Regions from separate parts of the Homo sapiens genome. Here region 2 is linked to region 1. Evidence: promoter capture Hi-C in 16 types of primary human blood cells and fetal thymus (Javierre and others, 2016). All regions are on one chromosome and are shown on one strand. The core of a region is centred on a gene start or on the middle of the fragment in contact, and the rest is flanking DNA. Distances in the headings are between cores, read along the strand shown. Region 1 holds the start of CYP1A2 (cytochrome P450 family 1 subfamily A member 2). Region 2 holds the start of SCAMP5 (secretory carrier membrane protein 5).

Region 1 (5,172 bases), core at 1,511-4,010:
GTCCCAGCTGACATATGCACTTTTCTATATTGTATCCTGTAATTTAATTTTTTTAAGTTTTAAGAAAACATTAAAAATAAAAAGATAAATAGTCTGTCATACAGGAGAATTTCAAATAGTTTATGGAGATAATCCCCCCTCAAGGAGAAGGAGCGTAATCCCCCACTCCTTCGGTGTGGGCTGTGCATAGTGACTTCCTTCCAAAAGGTACAGTATGGAAAGGTGGGAAAGGAGTAACTTTACAGTGAAGAGACCTGACACGCACTACCTTAGCCAGGTGATCAAGGTCAACATCCACATCTGTAAGTCACATTGATAGGATGTAACCCTGATATGATGTGACGAGAATGGCACCTAACCTCCAAGGTCTTCCCACCAACAAACCATAACCCCAGGCTTACCATGAGAAGAAAAACATCAGGCACATTCCAATAGTGGGCATCCTACAAAATGTCCAACCAGTACTCCTGAAAATTGTCAAGGTCATCAAAAACAAGGATATCCTGAGAAACTGTCACAGCCAAGAGGAATCCAAAGAGACGTGATGACTAAATGTCATGTGATATCCAATGGGTCCTGGAACAGGAAAAGGACATTAGGTAAAACGCAAGGAAATCTAAGTAAACCATGAACTTTAGTTAATTAGAGAGACAGACAGACAGAGAGAAAGAAAGAGTCCATTTTCTATAAAACCGAGCCTAACCTCAAACCTTGACCTTTTTCATTGAGTCATCTGAACCCAATGGAGATATAGACAGGAAACAACTTTCCTCTTCTCCCATTCATGGCCTTCAAACATGCTCTGTTTCTCTATTGGATTCCCCATCCATCTGCCTTGGCATCTTCACAGGTTGATCCCACAGTTTTCTCATTTTCAGGAATAAAAGCCCACTCCAGTCTAAATCAAAACTTCCCTCTCACATCCATGCCGGGCACAGTGGCTCACACCTGTAATCCCAGCAGTTTGGGAGGCCAAGGCAGAAGGATTGCTTGGGCCCAGAAGTTCAAGACCAACCTGGGCAACATGGCAAGACCTCCTCTCTACAAAAAAATGTTTAAAAATAAAAAAATTAGCCAGGCATGGTGCACACACCTGTGATTGTGGTCCCAGCTACTCAGGAGGCTGAGGCAAGAGGATTGTTTGAGCTCAGGAGGTCGAGGCTGCAGTGAGCCATGATTGTGGCACATGAACCCCAACCTGGGTGACAGAGCAAGACTCTGTATCTAAAAAAAAAAAAAAAAGATAGCAAACTTCCTTTTCACATCCAATTTAAGGCTTGTCCTCCTCCTCCTCTTAGATCTGACTGAGATCTGGGTCCATATTAAAGACTCCTTTAGTACAACAAACACCATATATCCTCACGTAAGTCCATGAATATCTGACATTTCTCATATCTACTTTCTCTCGATTTATTGATAGATAGGTATACATTGTTTTAATTTTATGGGTACATAGTAGGTGTATATATGTATGGGGTACATGAAATGTTTTGATACAGGCATGCAATATGAAATAAGCATTCATGGAGAATGGAGTATCCATCCCCTCAAGCAAGGATAAACCTTTGAGTTACAAACAATCCAATTACACTCTTTAAAGGTGTACATTTTTTTTTTTTTTGAGACGGAGTCTCACTCTGTCGCCCAGGCTGGAGTGGAGTGGCACGATCTTGGCTCACTGCAGCCTCCACCTCCCAAGTTCAAGCCATTCTCCTGCCTCAGCCTCCCGAGTAGCTGGGATCACAGGCACATGCCACCATGCCTGGCTAATTTTTGTATTTTTAGTAGAGACGGAGTTTCACCAGGTTGGCCAGGCTGGTCTTGAACACCTGATCTCAGGTGATCCGCCCATCTCGGCCTCTCAAAGTGCTGGGATTACAGGTGCGAGCCATCGCGCCTGGCCTAGAGGTGTACATTTTTTAACAGAACCATTCAAAAGGAGGTTGTGGGGATCATGACACTTCCATGCTACAGCATTAATCTCCTAAGAATAAGGATACACTCCCACATACCATGACACTCTGTTCACACCTAAAAAAATTTACATTTATTCCAGAATATCATCTAATCTCCAGTCCGTGCTTACATGTCCCCAATTGTCCCCAAAACATCTTTTATAGATTTTTTTAAAATTTTGTTTAAATGCCATATCCAATCGATATGGCAATCAAATGCAAATCCATATTGCATTTGGTTATGTCTCTTAGTCTTTTTGCATAAGGGGGGCCTCTCTTTAGGATGCAAAATCTTTATCATCTCTTCTTTTCCACTTGGGGACTTGGGCTGAAAATCAGGAGTGGCTGGAACACGCCCATTTACTGTTTGGTTTTGCAGGTTGTTGGAGGGTACTACAGAAGAACATCCCTCTGGAGAGGGGCCGTGAGCCTGGTTGGCCTAGACTGAGTGCCCTGGCAGAGCTCTTCCTCATGTGTGCAGTGGGAAAGAAGCCCAGATCAGTCCAAAGGCCTAACCCCCACTCCCAGACCCTACCCTACTCTTCAGAGAAATAGGCTCCCTACCCTGAACCCTAAAGACAGCTGTACCTTCATCCCCAGGGACCCAGCACCCCTTCTGGCCTATCCCCAAAGAGTCACCCTGGGTCTTAGGTAGTAGGTGGAGCTGAGGGATAATGGCCCAAGGCCAAGAGTTGATCCTTCCAACTTTGTTCAGTGATCCAGCTTTCATATCAGGTGATCAGGACAACCAGGCCAATCTGATAGGGGGCGGTGTTTATAAAAAGGCCACTCACCTAGAGCCAGAAGCTCCACACCAGCCATTACAACCCTGCCAATCTCAAGCACCTGCCTCTACAGGTACCTTTCTTGGGACCAATTTACAATCTCTGGGATCCCCAACTATAGAACCTGGAAGCTAGTGGGGACAGAAAGACGGGGAGCCTGGGCTAGGTGTAGGGGTCCTGAGTTCCGGGCTTTGCTACCCAGCTCTTGACTTCTGTTTCCCGATTTTAAATGAGCAGTTTGGACTAAGCCATTTTTAAGGAGAGCGATGGGGAGGGCTTCCCCCTTAGCACAAGGGCAGCCCTGGCCCTGGCTGAAGCCCAACCCCAACCTCCAAGACTGTGAGAGGATGGGGACTCATCCCTGGAGGAGGTGCCCCTCCTGGTATTGATAAAGAATGCCCTGGGGAGGGGGCATCACAGGCTATTTGAACCAGCCCTGGGACCTTGGCCACCTCAGTGTCACTGGGTAGGGGGAACTCCTGGTCCCTTGGGTATATGGAAGGTATCAGCAGAAAGCCAGCACTGGCAGGGACTCTTTGGTACAATACCCAGCATGCATGCTGTGCCAGGGGCTGACAAGGGTGCTGTCCTTGGCTTCCCCATTTTGGAGTGGTCACTTGCCTCTACTCCAGCCCCAGAAGTGGAAACTGAGATGATGTGTGGAGGAGAGAGCCAGCGTTCATGTTGGGAATCTTGAGGCTCCTTTCCAGCTCTCAGATTCTGTGATGCTCAAAGGGTGAGCTCTGTGGGCCCAGGACGCATGGTAGATGGAGCTTAGTCTTTCTGGTATCCAGCTGGGAGCCAAGCACAGAACACGCATCAGTGTTTATCAAATGACTGAGGAAATGAATGAATGAATGTCTCCATCTCAACCCTCAGCCTGGTCCCTCCTTTTTTCCCTGCAGTTGGTACAGATGGCATTGTCCCAGTCTGTTCCCTTCTCGGCCACAGAGCTTCTCCTGGCCTCTGCCATCTTCTGCCTGGTATTCTGGGTGCTCAAGGGTTTGAGGCCTCGGGTCCCCAAAGGCCTGAAAAGTCCACCAGAGCCATGGGGCTGGCCCTTGCTCGGGCATGTGCTGACCCTGGGGAAGAACCCGCACCTGGCACTGTCAAGGATGAGCCAGCGCTACGGGGACGTCCTGCAGATCCGCATTGGCTCCACGCCCGTGCTGGTGCTGAGCCGCCTGGACACCATCCGGCAGGCCCTGGTGCGGCAGGGCGACGATTTCAAGGGCCGGCCTGACCTCTACACCTCCACCCTCATCACTGATGGCCAGAGCTTGACCTTCAGCACAGACTCTGGACCGGTGTGGGCTGCCCGCCGGCGCCTGGCCCAGAATGCCCTCAACACCTTCTCCATCGCCTCTGACCCAGCTTCCTCATCCTCCTGCTACCTGGAGGAGCATGTGAGCAAGGAGGCTAAGGCCCTGATCAGCAGGTTGCAGGAGCTGATGGCAGGGCCTGGGCACTTCGACCCTTACAATCAGGTGGTGGTGTCAGTGGCCAACGTCATTGGTGCCATGTGCTTCGGACAGCACTTCCCTGAGAGTAGCGATGAGATGCTCAGCCTCGTGAAGAACACTCATGAGTTCGTGGAGACTGCCTCCTCCGGGAACCCCCTGGACTTCTTCCCCATCCTTCGCTACCTGCCTAACCCTGCCCTGCAGAGGTTCAAGGCCTTCAACCAGAGGTTCCTGTGGTTCCTGCAGAAAACAGTCCAGGAGCACTATCAGGACTTTGACAAGGTGAGCCCGGGGTGCAGGTGGCAAGGGGCACCTTGCAGGGCCTGGGTGCAGCCCCTCCCTCCCAGCTCCAGCATGCCCACACAGCTGCTGTGTTGCCAAGGCCTAGGAAGGCTCTGGACACCTCAGACCAGCTGTGTGACCTGGAGCCGACTCTTCCCCTTCTCTGGGCCTCAGTTTCCTCATCCTTGAAGCCCCCTTCTCAGGGCTCCTCAAAGCCCCCAAGAAAAAAGCCCTGGAAATGGGGCCCTAGCAGAGTCCTGCAATGTGGGGGGCCTATGAGTGAGAAAGCTTTCATTCTGCAGAAACCTAAACCCCAACAGAGGCTAATCCCCAGCTCTGGTGTCACGTTGCTTCCCTGTGTTCACACTAACCTTTTCCTTCTTTGAAATTGGACCCCTGGTGTTATTGGGAGGAAGGGTCAATGGGGCATAAAATGACACTTTAAGCCATACCCAGGGCTGCTACCAGCTCCTGCTGCAAGCTGCAACCCCCTGCCTAGAGACCAAGTTGGGAGGATAGGGGGGTACCCAGCCACCAGGTACAGGCCAGGGGAGTGGAGCAACGTTCAGCCTTTGACCTTGGAAGTGCCAGAGGTGCCCCTAAGCTTGTGCCCCCTCAGAACAGTGTCCGGGACATCACGGGTGCCCTGTTCAAGCACAGCAAGAAGGGGCCTAGAGCCAGCGGCAA
Region 2 (5,172 bases), core at 1,420-3,919, 250 kb after region 1:
TATCTGGCATCCTGTATGGGTAGCATACCTCCCTGACCCCCATGAATTAATTTTGGGCTTACCCATGTGACTTGCTTTGAGTAATGGCATATGAGCAGATGTGACATTCTCCACATCTGCAAAGAAGCTTGAAATGTGTTACTGCATGGTTTGGCACAGGCTCTCTCACCCCTGCCCTCCACTACAACAAAGACATGTCTCCAGTGCCTGCCACGCAGTTTGAGCTAGCACCTTTAAATACTTTATTTATTTATTTTTTTGAGAGGAAGTCTTGGTCTGTCGCCTAGGCTGGAGTGCAGTGGCGTCATCTAGGCTCACTGCAACCTCCACCTCCTGGGTTCAAGGGATTCTTGTGCCTCAGCCTCCTGAGTAGCTGGGATTACAGGTGCACACCACCATGGCTGGCTATTTCTGTATTTTTAGCAGAGATGAAGTTTCACCATGTTGGCCAGGCTGGTCTCGAACTCCTGACCTCAAGTGATTCGCCTGCCTTGGCCTCCCAAAGTGCTGGGATTATAGGCGTGACCCACCGTGCCTGGCTTAAATACTTTATTTTTAATTTTTAAAAATTGTTTTATCCATCTATTTACAGATCATTAAATACTTACTGTGTACCAGGCAGTCCCATATGTTACATGTGTCTGCATGTATTAATTCATTTCATCCTTGCAGGAACCCTAAGACACGGGTCCCATTATCACCATCCTTATTTTACATATGTGGAAAACTAAGGTTCAGTGAGGATTAGTACCTTCTCAAATTCACACTGCAGGGAAGGGGCAAGGTCTGCCTTCTAGGTTGATATTCTTAACCACTGCTGTATGCTTCTTCTCATGGTAGGTAACCAGCAAATGCCTATTAAGTAAACGTTTGTTTAAGTGATCATTGTTCCCTTCCATTTACCTGAATAGGAAAGGTACAATCTACTGGGACAAAGGTGGGCTTCTGACTTTGGACCTGCTCACTCTTCCTACGTTAGTTGTTTATCAAATAGGAGACCCTTCTGATTCTTCTGAGTGGAGAAAAATTGTCCGTGGTCATCAGACGGGAACCCCAATATTTCCCTTGTAGGACCTACATGAACCACAAGATATCTCCTATAAATTCCATGTGGTTTCCAGACATCTTCCTTGTGGATCCCAGTGTGGACCTCAGATCTCTCTCCTAAAGGCCTATGTGAACCCCTATATCTTTCCTGAGGCCCACATGGACTCCCAACATTTTCCCTGTAGCAGCCACACTTGATAACTTCGACAGGTTCCCAGTTGTCATCTCATTGGCTGCTCTCCACAGCTCTGTAAATCAGCCTTGGCTTGCATTATAGCAGGGAGAGACAGCATGTGGGTCAACCAGGGACAGGACTGACACAGAACCCAGTTGTCCTGCCCCGAAGCCCAGGACCCTTCCTTCCTGGTTGGCCTGGTGGCAGGATGATGCTTCCTGCTCAGCCCTTCCCAGGCACCGAGGCTCTCTCCCTCCTTTTCCCCTCTGCCACACTAGTTCTTGTCTGCCTTTTTTCACTGCCACCCCCTTTTCATGCCAGCTGTGGGAGTGAGGCCCCACTCCTGGCAGGATGGAGCCAGACAATGGGCCCTTATTCTAGGCAAAGAATCCCTGCAGTGTCTCCCACCCACTGAGGCCCCCTTCCAGGCCTAGGATGGTGTGGGTGGGGGGTGGAGGGTGGGTGTATGGTGTAGGGGAAGGAGCAATTGGCTGGCAGGACAGACAGTGGCCCTGGCCCTGCCTGTAGAGATCCCACGGAGGTTTACTATGTAAACACCAATCACAATAAAATCCTGTCTTCACTCCCAGCCCATCTCTCCAAGTGGGTCTCTCTCAACCCTCCAAAGCTCTGGGTTTTTAAACATTTACCCTTGCCTCTACTCTCTCTTGGTATTCATCTCTGCATATCACTGTCTCTTTCATTCCTTTTTCTGAGTCTCTTTCTTTTTCTAAGCCTCTCCTCTCTCTCTCTCTCTCTCTCTGCTCCTTTGCGTAATTTGTCTCTATTTCTTGCCTCTTTCTTGCTTCATTATGCTCCCTTACCTATCTTATCTTTCCATGTCTTTTTTCTCTCCAGGCCTTGAGCTCTCATCTCAGTCTCTCTCTCCGTGTGTCTCTGTCTCTGTTTGCAGCTCTTCTTTCTCGTCCTCCTATGTCGTCTTTCCGTGGATCTGTGTCCTTGCCTCTCTGAATATCATCTCCGATCTTCCGTCCTCTGTTCTCTCTTTCCCCCTGCGCCTGCAGATCTGAAGGACCTTCCGCAGTCACCACACTCTCCTGCTTTCAGCTCTTTCTCACTCCTTTCTGGCACGTCCCAGAGGCTCCTGGCATAGGTATAGGAGGTTATTCTCCCCAGTTTACAGATATGGAAGCTGAGGCTCTGGCTGCTGGTGCCAGGCTCCCATCTCTGGGTCTCTTCCTTCCACCTACACGCCAGGCTCTTGTCCCTGAGGTGCCCGTCAACCACCTGATCCGGCCGGGGCCCGGGAACTAGCACCTCGGACAGCTCCTGGAAGATGCCGGGGCGGCCGGGTCGTCCTTCTCGCGAGCTCAGGAGGAGCAGCCTTAGGAGCAGAGCGGAAGTCTCGCGAGAGTGACTGCTGCAGGCAGTGGCGGCGCGGGCGCGCGCAGAGACGGCCTCGGGCGCGCGCGCGCGCGCGCGCGCTCCCCGCCCCCAGCCCCGGAGCGGCTCGCGGCCGGCTCCGCGCCGCATCGCTCGGGTGCAGCGCAGCTCAGCGCAGCGCTGCGGCCTTTCGGCAGCCGAACGGCCGCGGCAGGTGAGTCTGGGCATGAAGGCTGGGAGGAGAGCTTTGAAGGGAAGCTGGGCGCGGGGCGAGAGGTGTGGGGGTCGCTGGCTGCAGCTTTGTTCCTCCTACACTTCACCTTTGGATGCAGGAAGAAGGCCGAACTGCTGGAGAGGTGGGAGTGGAGGTGACCTTTACTGTTTGGGGCTGGGGGAGAGCGCTCAGGGCGCACCCAGGCCCCCCGAGCCCCCCAAGCCCCCCCATTCCCATCTGTGGCTCCCGCAGAGGGAACTGGGCCTTTGGGTGACGTCAGACCCTGGATCTGGAGCCTGAGCTTTGGGCCCTCCATCCCCCCCGCCAGCCCCACCTGGCGTTCCCTGGAAACCGGCCTTCTGGAGATGGCGTGCGCAGCCGGGGATGGGGGCGACTGGAAGGGGGTGCCCGTGGCTTCCTTTGGGCCTTTCCTTCCAACTAGCGCCTGCAGGTGGACCCGGGTTGACTTCCCTCACCTCCCTCGGGCGGCCGACCTTTGGATGGCGGACCTCAGCCGCCCCAGGGTTGCGAGGCGACGGGCGCGCTGGCCCAGGCCACCAGGCGGGCTCCATCAGGGCTTTGGGTGGTGAGTTGGGGGCGCCGGATTTGGCTCATTTCAACGCTGGCCGGAGGTCACGAGGATGGAGGTGAGGTGTTTGTGAACCGATCCTTGTCCTCCGCCTCGGGGAGCTCCTGGTCTGTGGGTTGGGGGAACCAAGTAGAGACTCGGACTGAGCATTCACTGTCACAGGCGGCTTAAACAAGTAATGTCCCAGCTTCCCGATGGGGAGATCAGTGAGGGCCTGGCAGACTTTCCCAGGGACACAGAGAGAAAGGGAGGCGACAGCTAGCGAATAGGAGACTTCCAGAGGTGATGGGATTTGGGTGGGAGGAGAGGCAAGAGAGGGCATTCCAGGAGAATGTATGGGCAAAGGCACAGGGATGAAAACGAGCACAGCTGTTGGGGGCTGAGCCTGGGAGCTCAGCCATGTGACTGCCCATGGGGTGGTGGAGTCTGGAGAAATTTGCAACCTGTCCCCTACATGTTCTGCCTCACGGAGCAGGGCTCTGAAAGAGGGAGATGGTTCTTGCAGGGGCATGATTGGCAGAGAGATTTTGTTTGGGGCTACACAGGTCTTGCTAACTTAGGTTTGTTCTGGGCTTGGTGAGCCTTAGGGCAAAGTCTCTAGAGCTGAGAGGGGGCTGTCTCTGGTGAATGGGCCCCTGAAAGAGGGTCTTAGGTTTAGCAAACCCCTTGGAGAGTTAGTGGGGTCCCAGGAGGGGAGTTCTAGAGAGAGACCTTGGGCTCTGTGGCTGTTTCTTTAACCGTTTCCTGAGTGGCCACCTCCAAGCAAGTTCCCCAAGTCACCTCCCCTCTCTGGGCATCTCTTTCTAGCACCTTTCTCTAGAGATGAAATAATAGGACTAAGTAGTGACCTCCCTTGAGGATGCTCCTTGTTCTAGTTTAGAGCATCCCCCCTTTCTTCTCCCTCTTCCTTTTCCTTTCCTCCCCTATCCCTCTGCCTCCCTGTCCCTATCCCCACCCCTTGCCCCCCACAGCATTTCCTTTACAGGCTGCACTTCCTTCCCTGCTGCCAGCCAGGAGTTTCGGAAGGTTTCCTGGAGGAAGTGTGATACAGCAGGTTTGACAGCAGCTTTGGGCTTAATCTGATTGGGGGAGGGCGTTAATTGCCTCCCTCCCACCCATTGGGAAAGTGTCCAAGTCTTAAGCAAGTATATGGATTGACTGTGCTCTGTGCTGGGTCCCTCCTGGAAACTCCATCCAGGAGGGAGTGAGGAGATTATGGGAGAAGACGTGAACACTTAGTGCCCAATGACTGACTCAAAATGTATGCAGCGGGATGCAGAGCAGCGATTTTTGGAAAGGCTTCCCAGAAGGGGTGGGATGTGAGAAGGTAGCAGGACTTAGAGGAGCTGATAGTGCTGCCAATTTAGGGGCACTGGAAGCAGAGGGGGCGGCTAGAGATGATCTCCTGCATGAGGCTGGGAGTGTAGGAGGCAGGTCAACCTGTGAGCAGCCAAAGGTGGTGGGAGGGAGGTTTGTAGCTGACTGGCACAAAGCCTTGAATGCCAGGCAAAGATCTGTAGGAGGCTACTGAATAGTCATCAGTAGGACAGGGACAGCATGGCCAGGAGACTGCTGTTTTCTGAGGATTATTCATAGTTCTGGGATTTCAGGGCAGAAGATGGGGCTAGGAGTGGGATGAGGGGATTGGAGGTAGAGCAGGAGGGGGAAACTTCCATCTTAGCAGGTTGGCTCTGGGCAGCAAAAAGGAATCACCATTTCTGTGCCAGGGATGAGGGGCCCATACTGGTGAGCAGGGAGCCCTGGAGTTAGCCCCAGGACTCTGGCCTGATCTGAAGCCAGGCT

Evidence for each region. The method cuts DNA at HindIII sites, captures the fragments that hold promoters and counts their contacts. A CHiCAGO score of 5 or more calls a contact.
Region 2: the fragment with the promoter of SCAMP5 here is called in contact with the fragment with the promoter of CYP1A2 in region 1 in 8 of 17 cell types (naive CD8 T cells, activated CD4 T cells, non-activated CD4 T cells and 5 more); the score reaches 9.9 in naive CD8 T cells.

What each region holds. Positions count from the first base shown.
Region 1 is chr15:74,746,085-74,751,256 of GRCh38, forward strand. CYP1A2 (cytochrome P450 family 1 subfamily A member 2) reads left to right here and starts at 2,761. Exons shown (of 7, transcript NM_000761.5): 1 at 2,761-2,813; 2 at 3,646-4,485; 3 at 5,105-5,172. The coding sequence starts at 3,655. RefSeq lists a cis regulatory region at 1-1,430, promoters at 1-2,851, 237-785, 2,517-3,654 and an enhancer at 405-663. The HindIII fragment of the contact is 9,803 bases long and covers 1-4,771 here.
Region 2 is chr15:74,992,894-74,998,065 of GRCh38, forward strand. SCAMP5 (secretory carrier membrane protein 5) reads left to right here and starts at 2,670. Exons shown (of 7, transcript NM_138967.4): 1 at 2,670-2,780. The HindIII fragment of the contact is 14,301 bases long and covers 126-5,172 here.